Linked DNA regions of Homo sapiens: region 1 is linked to region 2. The links are contacts of gene promoters, found by promoter capture Hi-C in blood cells and fetal thymus (Javierre and others, 2016). All regions are on one chromosome and are shown on one strand. The core of a region is centred on a gene start or on the middle of the fragment in contact, and the rest is flanking DNA. Distances in the headings are between cores, read along the strand shown. Region 1 has its middle 6.5 kb from the start of GGACT. Region 2 holds the start of MBNL2 (muscleblind like splicing regulator 2).

Region 1 (4,551 bases), core at 1,344-3,843, 3.4 Mb after region 2:
AGTATTTCTAGAATTAATGTTTTAAAGATGATGTGGGTTGCCGGCAGGTTTTTGTGAATAAGGCATTGACCTTTTCTCCACAAAAGATATGCAGTATCTTTTTTAAAAAGTGTATGAAATTTTCCAAGCAATTGCAGTTGAGATGGTTTATGCTATTCTTGCCATCTTCTGTAATTTCAGGAACAACAAGCAAAGACCGGAAGAAAGCACTATATGAGGTTATTTCCTTAGCTTTGTTGAATAAATCCCCAATCATGAATAGGAGAATAAGAATTCTCAGAAGTAATCTGACCAGCCAAATATACTATCCACCATGCTCAAAGCTAATGACATTGAAAGAGCTGTAGGCAGGCCACAGCCTCTCTAACCCTATCACCTTGCTGCCAATCAAGTCACTGCCCTGCTATTCAAGCAGTAACTTTTAAAAGGAAATAATGCTAATCTGGTGTCTAGAAATGTAGACATTACAAAATGAAATGTAGCTGGGTTCTCTTTGAGTGGTCAATGTGGGGAATTAAGGCATATTGAGTGGGCCTCATATGCCAGGCACGACATGACTCTTCTCGTGTCATCCTTTGAACAATAGTATGAACCAGATATTATTATCCCCATTCTACCTGTGAAATGGCTCTGAGAGGTAAAATAACTCACTCAAAGGTACACTGTAAATAAGCGTGCAATGGCTTGAACTCACACCCAGCTGAGCCGAAAACCTGTTCTCTTACCATGAGGTTTAAACGGGGAAGCTGGGTAATATACCCTGAACTGTATATTATCAGGACTTATCATTTATATTTGAACCTCTTTGTTAAAATTATTAGTTCCAGTAAGTAATCCTATACATGTAGTTCTCTCAGTGAAGCACTTTCACACACACGATCCATTTGATCCTTATTCTTGCATGAAATAGTAAAGACCAGGGAGAATTTCTTCTGCTTTGATTGGCACGTGGCCTGTCTGGGCCCAATCAAAGACCACCAGGTGCAAAACTGTAGTTGGATAAAGTCAGATTTATTGGCTCATTGCAAGGAGAGAAGACTGAGGCCAGAGGAATCCTGGGATGCCTCAGCAAAGGTAAAGTTTGAAGACTTAGGGGAGGGGTGGCGTGTAGGTGAAATTTAAAGGAAAGAGTGTTTTGACAGGTTCAAGGCAGACAGAGCTGTGAGTACAGATCAACATCAGGTCTGGAGTCTGGGGGTCTACATCCTTGGAGACTAGAGTTAATATAGATGCAGACTGGCACACCCAGAAACCCTTTAAGGGAAGTTCTGCACCCAGGTTGGAAATAGAGGCTGCTTGTTTGTTTCAAGGAGACTCGGATCCCCCGGGTAAGTTGAGATGGTTCCGTCCTGATGATTTCAAACAGCAAACCTTCTGATAGTCAATGCTTTTCCAGAAGGAAGCCTCTCAGTGAGTAAGAAAGCAGCAAGCACCCAAGGACGGGGGTGATTTGACCTGATATGACATCCGTGTGTCCTTGGAGGACGTATTTCCCGCTCCCTCTGCTGCTGTCGTTATCTGTGCTATCTCAGCCTGATGGATGGCAGGGGGCAGAAGTTTACTTTTTCAGTCTGAGATACCTTTTTAACTGATCAGGCCATATCAGGACTAGAAACCTTCAAAATACTTTATTTCCATGCGGGTGTTGGCATTTCAAACATTATGATATTTCACAACAGATTTTGATGAGGATTTGCATAAGCATGCAAAGCAGCTCACCTTTATAACTTCTTCCAGTGGACTTCTCTATAAGAGTTCATGTTTTTTTAAAAAAGGATAAAGCATCTAGGTATTTTTGAAGACTCCTGGGTTAGTCCAATCTTATTTCATAGAGGAGAAATTAACCAAAGCAAGGACAACTACTGATAGTGACAGGAGGCAGCCAAATGCCTAGGCAGGTAGGGCAGGTCCCCAGTGAAACGCCACCTTCAGGCCAAAAACAGCCTGAAAGCTGAAAGATCGGATTGCCGGTCCCGGATGAAGTCTGCAACCCAGAGTGAGAACTTCTGTTCCTTTTTGCCCATCCTTTCCCAATTGATTCTTTCTGAATTATGCCTTTTAACTAATCAAATGTTGCCTTTTCCAATATTACCTACAGCCTGCCCCTTCTCCATTCTGAGCCCATAAAAAGCCTCAGACTCAGCCATATTAGGGGAACTTTCCCACCTTTGGGTAGGGGCACCACCCCGGCGTCCCCTCTCCATGAAAGCTATTTCATCATTCAGTAACCCCGCCTTGCTCACGCTTTGATTGTCAGTGCATCCTCATTCTTCTTGGGTGTAAGACAAGAACTGGGGAATCAGTGCATAAGCTTGACCGGGCCTGGGCAGGCTGAGTGGGCAGGCTGTGTCCTGCAGCAGGTAGTGTGGTTGAGTGAGGCCTGGGTGGGGTGTTGCATCTTGCAAAATGACTGAGAAGAAAATCCTGTGTCACTACCATTATTTTTATCAGAAGCAACTGAGGCATGGAGTAATTAACAGATTCATCCCAGGTTCCAAGTAACTAAAGGAAGGATTGGAGTTGTTTGTATCTAATTGGATTGCTGGAACTTAAAAATAAAAGACACATGCCAGTGAAGTTAATCCTAGCACAGCTCTCACACACCTGTTCCCATGCTTTTTCTACCCTGTCACCTTGTTTGCCGAGGTCTGCAGTTTCCTAGGCCAGTACTGTGAAAGCTATCATCTGTATGTTTTATCAGAAAGTTCTAGAAATGAGCAGTTTTGATATTCAAGACAAATCTCAAGTCTAGCCATCATAATTAATGCTATCAAAATTTAACTGCTGAGACAAAATTGTTTTTACAAGATGGATAAAAGTAGAATTTAAATCAAGAGAGAAAACATTTTCTCAAACACATCACAAGTGGGAAGAAGAAAGCTTTATTGGTCTTTGGGAAATGCCACATATTTAAAAATAAATGATTAGAAATGTAGGACACTCAGGCAGTTTTGATAAACAAAGTAACTGATTAAAACTACTTGAACTAGTCAGAAAATAAGTGATTGCCCAGGTGTGGTGATTCACGCCTATAATCCCAGCACTTTGAGGGGAGGCTGAAGTAGGAGTTCAAGACCAGCCTGGGCAACATAGGGAGAACTTGTCTCTACTAAAAAAAAAAAAAAATTAACCCAGCATGGTGGCACATACCTGTGGTCCCAGCTACTCAGGAGGCTGAGGCAAGAAGATTGCTTGAGCCCAGGAGGTTGAGGCTGCAGTGGGCTGAGATCGCACCACTGCACTCCAGCCTGAGTGACAGAGCGAGATCCTGTCTACCCCCCTCAAAAAAATATATATATATAAATCTGAAATTATTTCTGGGTCATTTAATTATAGGAAAAGTGAAGGGTTTTCCCCCCTTCAGTTATTTATCAAATATTTTGATATACCAAGCTCTGGTCCAGGACTCTATATGTCTTTTCTCACGTAAACATCTCAATAATTGTGAAAAAGTTACATTCCCCATTTTACAGACAAGGAAGCCAAGGTGCTGAAAGATTAAGTGACTTGCTCTATTAGTTCCCTAGGGCTGTCATAACAAGGCCCCACAGACTGGGTGGCTTCAAACAACAGAAATGCATTCTCTTGCAGTTCTGCAGGCTGGACATCTGAGATCGAGGTATTGGCAGGGGCCACGCTACCCTGGAAGCCTCTAAGGGAGAATTCTTCCTTGTCTCTTCCAGCATTTGGTGGCCCCTGGTGTTCCTTGGCTTGTAGAAGCATCACTCTAATCCCTGCCTCTGGTGTCATCAACTCAGCATGTGGTAGAATGTGAGTCAGGATGGATTTTGGCTTTGAAAAGCTATACCCTGTTTTAAAGAGCCTGCTGAGGGAGGGAGGCTCATTAATCCAAAAGATAGGCACCTGTGTGGAAGTGCATGCCCCTAAAGGTGGAAGCCAACTGGAAGAGGATGAAGAGAGAAATGGAGATCTGTGATGTTATTGCAGGAGGTCAGTACTGTCTGCGTGGTTGAGTGGGGAAAATGAGTGATATGCCTCAAAATACAAATCCCCAGATTGGCACCACTGCAACATAGAGTGCCTGGAGGGATGCTCCAGTGATGTGAATACCTGCTGGATGTCGTCTTTGGCAGAGCCTTTGTTAAGACTCTGACTCGACATGCTGACGTTTTAATTTCCCAAGAATAATCTAGAAGAGGAAGGTAGACGCTATGTAGGTCTATGGGGGAAATTGGGTTTCTAAGATGCCATCACAAAATTTCCCATTCCACGTGCTCTTTTTACAACGTGATGTTGACATGCCTCCCATGGAGAAGTGAGGTCTGCGTTCCCTCCTCTTGAATCTGAATGGACCTATGATGATGGCAGGAGACACTTTGTGACTGCCAAAGCTAGGTCAGAAAAGGTGACATAGCTTCTGCTTGACTCTCTTGGAACTCAGCCACCATGCTGTGAGGAAGCCTAAGCAGCCACATGGAGAGGCCACGTGTTGGCATTCCAGGTCTCAGCTCCAGATGAGCTCACAGCCAATAGCACAAACTGCCAGACGTGGGTGACCAAGACCACAGATGATTCATTCCAGGTCCCAGT
Region 2 (5,035 bases), core at 1-2,500:
TTATGTTTTTAAGATGCAATGGCAAAATAAAAAGAAAGCATTCCATTGCATTCTGTTGCTTCATTACAGATGCGCTGAACAGTTGCTTATAAAAATCGTGCATTGGGTTCAACCTTTCAGATGAATAAAGGCTTTGTTCTGTCTTGGTCTCATCATGTAATCATCATACTTTTTTTTTCTCAAAATGTGGTATTTAGGGGAGGAAAATGTATGCTTGTTGTGTTTGCTCAATGCCATATGTTTTTGAGTTTTTGTTTTCAAGGCATACAGAAATGCTGTAGACTGGGAAATAAATAAATAAATAAATAAATAAATAACCCTTCCTAAACTTTCTCTTCTTCTGCTTTATCTCAGGAAACTCCAGCACCTCCTAGAACATCTTTTGTGGAATGGCACCTCATGGGGGCCCTTGGATCATGTACCCCTTGTATTCAACAGTAAACATCTTCCTATAATCATTGCTTCATTAACGATAATGTGAGCCAATGCACAGTATTTATCAAATGGCATCTAAGATGGTTAAAGCACACCTAATCCTCTCGTGGGTGCCTGCCAAGAGTAGAAAAGGGTAGTGTATAGATATCAATTTTATTGTCCAGCATTCCCTAATCGAAGTCCCAAGTGGTCTGAAAACTTAGACGAAAGATAAATGGGCCGCAGTAATTAACCACTGCAATAACAGATGTTATACAGGAAACCTGTGTGTGCCAGAGCTATAAGCATGTTTTGATTTTGAATACGCACTTGGGCTAGCACATTCTTCCTCAATAATGGAAATATGTAAATGTTTTGTAAGGTATTAACTGCCATGGCAGACGTTGAATTATTTTTCCTTTAAAAAACATATACATATGCTTTGTCAGATAGTCCAAGGACTTCAGTTTCATGTACAACCTGGATTTCTTTGGAATCTGCGGAGTTTCACATTTTCCCAAGTGTTCACGGTGAAGCTCCTGGCTTCGAGCTGGCTGTCTTCAAGGGTGTTTTCTTGAGCTACCCCTCTCTCTGCTCTGCCAATTATGTGCCACTTTGTCTTGGTGCTATGATTGCTTTCTTCTGAGAGGGAAATTCCTCTTTCATCAGTATGGATGCACTGTTTTTACACACTGCAAGTGCTGTGTTACTGTGTCAGTCATCCTATTAGGGCCAGTTTCAGACGAGTAGGGCTGACGAGCTGGCTGGGGATTGGCTGGCCCCGGCTGGGAGGGATTTGTCGGAAGGAAGGGCTGCAGCTTACAGCAACAGAGTTTAGACTGTCTTTGCTTCATCATCTGAAGGTAAAATTTTCCAGATACGGCAGACGGCTTTCAGAGTACAATAAACAGGGAATGAGAACTATTTACATGGAAGTTTCTTTCTCATGATGCGGTGGAGAAGCCTCGGCCACTTGGTTCTGCCAGATGTTCCTGGGGTTACTGTAAATGGGAAGGACAGGCAGAGCTAAACAAGGTAGGAGAATCGCCCCCCTTTTTTGAATGTTTAAAGAGTTTGCTGCAGTATGCTGCATTCCATGTGTGCTGCTTACGGGAGCCAGGGAAACTGGATTCCACTAATTCAATTGTAATACTTGCGGGGGACCCTGGAGTTTTACGTAACATTTTGATTTGAGAAAAAGAAATGGCAAAGCTTGAATCTATGCCGCCTGTTTGGGGTGAGGCAAGAAATCGAGTTTTTATGCAAAGAATCGATTCATTTATTATATTATTTTTTAAAAACCATTTGAATTCTTTGGAGCAATCTTATTTTCTTGCTGTGAAAAATTGTTATATTGCCATAGCTAGTTCCCAAATAGATAAAGTTTACATGGATCCTATTATTTGAAAACAGACTTGCAATTAAGGATTAAAAAAAAATTCATGGTAAATAATCATCGGTTGAATGTTTGGCCAAACGTATGTGTCTATTTATTAAAAATTAGGGACCTACCTAGCTCTACAATGCTACAGCTTTAATTGAGTTTCAAAAGCACATTTTAAACAACCTAGCAAGAGGTAGCTTTCTGGCAAGTTTTCGATACTGTAGTTCAATGTTTACATTTCTTTTCCTGGCATGTCTGAGCCTTTGTTTCCAGCTTAAAAGTGGAACCATTATATTCAAAAGTAAAGCTGGGTTAATAATGCTTACTGCAATTATCTGATCTTTATGCATTTTTAATGAGAACACACAGCCAGCAGAATAATTTAATGAGGGCAGGCTAGCTTTTAAAGCTGTGTTTTCACTATGCCGAACCATATCAACTTTCTCGCTGAGAAGCAGCAGTGAGAAATGATGGAGAAGATTTATTTTTAACACACTTGGCCCAGGAGAAGGAAAGGATATATTTGCTAAAGAATTCTTTCTGCCCTTTTCCGTTTTAAATTTCTGCCAGGCATGAGGAAACTGTGCTTTTTTGTTAGGCCTCGGAAGCATGTGTTTACAATAAATGTGTAACATTTTTAGAATAGTTAGCAAGCACTGAAGCGAAGAAAAAAATCTGACTTGCCTAACCACCACCACCTTGAATGTTCTACAAGAAACATTACTGTCCCTTTAAAAGACAAAGGTTAAGTGGAAAGCTATTTGTTAATTGGGTAATGTGTGTGTTTTGGGGACAATAAGGTTTTTAAAAAAGGCAGGGGGAACATTCTTATAATCTTTAAATAAGAGGAAGTTTCTTCAGCTATCCTACTTGTTTTGCAAGGAGCAGTAGAACTACTCATTTAAATAAGGGCAATGCCACGTAGATTCTTCTAGACCCACTGTTTTTACTTTCAAGGAGAAGTGCAGGACACTAGCCCAGAACTTCTGACGTCATCCCCCAACTATTTCTGCTGTGTGTTCCTTTATTCGAGCTTGTGGAGAGGAATATTTCTTTATGTCCTGGCCAGGAACATTCTAACTCCCCACTGGCAGGACTTAAGTTATGTCTTTATATTTTCGCCTGTCTTTTGTAAATTGTAAACCTGTCCCCTCATAAATAGGGCATCTTCTTGTACCTGCCACATGTCGGGCCGGTCAGCACAGGTTTTCTGCAGGGCTTCTGGCTGGGCTGGCAAAAAGCAGCAGGGAGCAGGGCAAAGCTTTTTTTCTGGCCTGACTCCCCCTTGGTGCAGCCCAGCGCTGCCACCTGGGTGGATGGTCCCCGGGGCCCTATTCCCAGTTGCTCCAGAGCCACTATTTAGGATCCAGGTTGTGCCACCAAGTTCAAGGCTGGTTGTGATGGTGAGAACAGCTGCTTTCATAGAAAAATCATCATGTCCTAGCACAGATGGCCCCAAGCAGGGGAAGTACAATACTGCAGGCTGCAAATCCATGTCACAGGTGGCAACCTTGGTCACAGAGATCGGGGGAAGGGTAATGTTTACAAAGGAACCTTTTAAAAAAGATTTTGACTGGAGCACATTGGAGTTCTCGGGAGTTCCCAAAGCTAATTTGTGTCTCCTCTCTGACTACTCACGTAGTTTTGAGCAAGTGCCTACCTTGATTTTTCTGTCTTTTAATAGAATTGAATCATACTTGCTACACTTTCCCTCATCATTTAGCATTTTGAGACCTTGACCTTTTACCAAAAAAAAAAAAAAAAAAAAAAAAGTTGTTTGTCTCTTGGCACATTGAGCTATTTAAAGTACAAAGGGATAAAACCTCGGTATTAAGAAACTGTTGGCAAACACCTTAGAGTATTAAGATACATAGTCATATACACAAAACCCTTCACTCTACTTTGTGCTCATGTAAATTTTTTAGGGATACTTTTTCTTAGTTCAACAAATGAAATTTCCAAGGAAATCAAAGCGTTGTTGTTTGCATTTTTTCCATCGATCTAATCTAATATACTAGAAGCTCTGCAAAGCACACTATTCTGGCCACAGGCCTTGTAGTGCCCAAAACATTTAATGCTGTTTTTCCTTTGACTTTTGTGTTAAATTTGTGAAAGTGGAGTAAATAAGAGAAAAAACAAGAGGGAAGGAGAAAAATATGCTTGTGAAATATACTGGTTAGGTAGCTTTACTGGTTAACAGCCTGCCTTCTCTCTGCTAGTTGTTTCAATTTGCTGTTGCTATGGTGAAAACAAATCAATATCACATGGCTACCAGCCAGTCCCGCGCTCAGGGAGTGCCATAGAAATTCAAGATCAGGTACTCAAGATTCCAAGCAAGAATTGGGAAAAGAGGATTTAGATGCTGAGCTTAAGAGAATTCCTTATAGTAGAATAAGTAGGTTCAATCTCTCATGCATTTTCTCTTCCTTTTTTCCTGTACTTTCCTACCGATAACAAGAAAAAGATGAAAAGGAAGGTATACTGATTTGTTTACATTTCCAAAATGACAAAACAGATTATCAACATAGAAATAGGTTGGCAACATTGCAAGGGGTGAAGGATTCTGATTCGGGAAAAGGTGGATAACTACAAGACATGTTGGTTGTTGAAAACATAGTTTTGGGGGCCTTTACCATCTTCAGGTACAGCTACATGTCAGAGCTGGCTGGGTTGTGCCAAGCAGAGAAACCTGGCAACTCTAGGGGGCAGGTGGGCAGTGGAGATAAAGGGGGTTATAAAAAGGTAGGGAGGTGTGGGCATAAAAATCAACAAGCAAGAAAGCCCAGAGAGAGCTGCAGGTCAAGAGTCAGGCCAGGCAAGCACAGATCCCTGGGGCATGGCAGAACAGGAGAGGACAGTTCGCCCTGTTCACGAAATCTGCTCAAGACCCAAGCTAAAGGCCTAGCAAAGAAAGGCAGGAAATAGCTGCAAAGAGAAGTAAAGGTGTCATGGGCCCAGGCATCCTTTCCGGAAGGGTCGACTCAACTGGATGAGCATGGATGTCCACTGCTGGGGAGAGCAAAGAGCTTGATATTTTAATGCTTTGGTTTCTCTCAGAAGAATGAGGCAGGAAGACTTAACCGGGCTTTGTAAATTAGTTAACATACTATTTTTTTTTCTCCAGTTTTATACTCTTCTCAGTTTTTTTTTTCTTTTAAAAAATGTGCACAAACTATTTGTTGCAGCCGTGATAATATTCGTAGTAAAGAGCCAAAGGTGCTGCGTGGCTGGGTCTGC

What was found. The method cuts DNA at HindIII sites, captures the fragments that hold promoters and counts their contacts. A CHiCAGO score of 5 or more calls a contact.
Region 1: a fragment that was not itself captured here is called in contact with the fragment with the promoter of MBNL2 in region 2 in 1 of 17 cell types (total CD4 T cells); the score reaches 5.2 in total CD4 T cells.

Annotation. Positions count from the first base shown.
Region 1 is chr13:100,592,995-100,597,545 of GRCh38, forward strand. No RefSeq gene overlaps it. Among named protein-coding and RNA genes, the nearest start is that of GGACT, 6.5 kb to the left of the region's middle. The HindIII fragment of the contact is 569 bases long and covers 2,310-2,878 here.
Region 2 is chr13:97,221,083-97,226,117 of GRCh38, forward strand. It overlaps MBNL2 (muscleblind like splicing regulator 2), which reads left to right and starts at 1,251. Exons shown (of 9, transcript NM_001382683.1): 1 at 1,251-1,449. RefSeq lists an enhancer at 1,273-1,332. The HindIII fragment of the contact is 4,024 bases long and covers 1-1,624 here.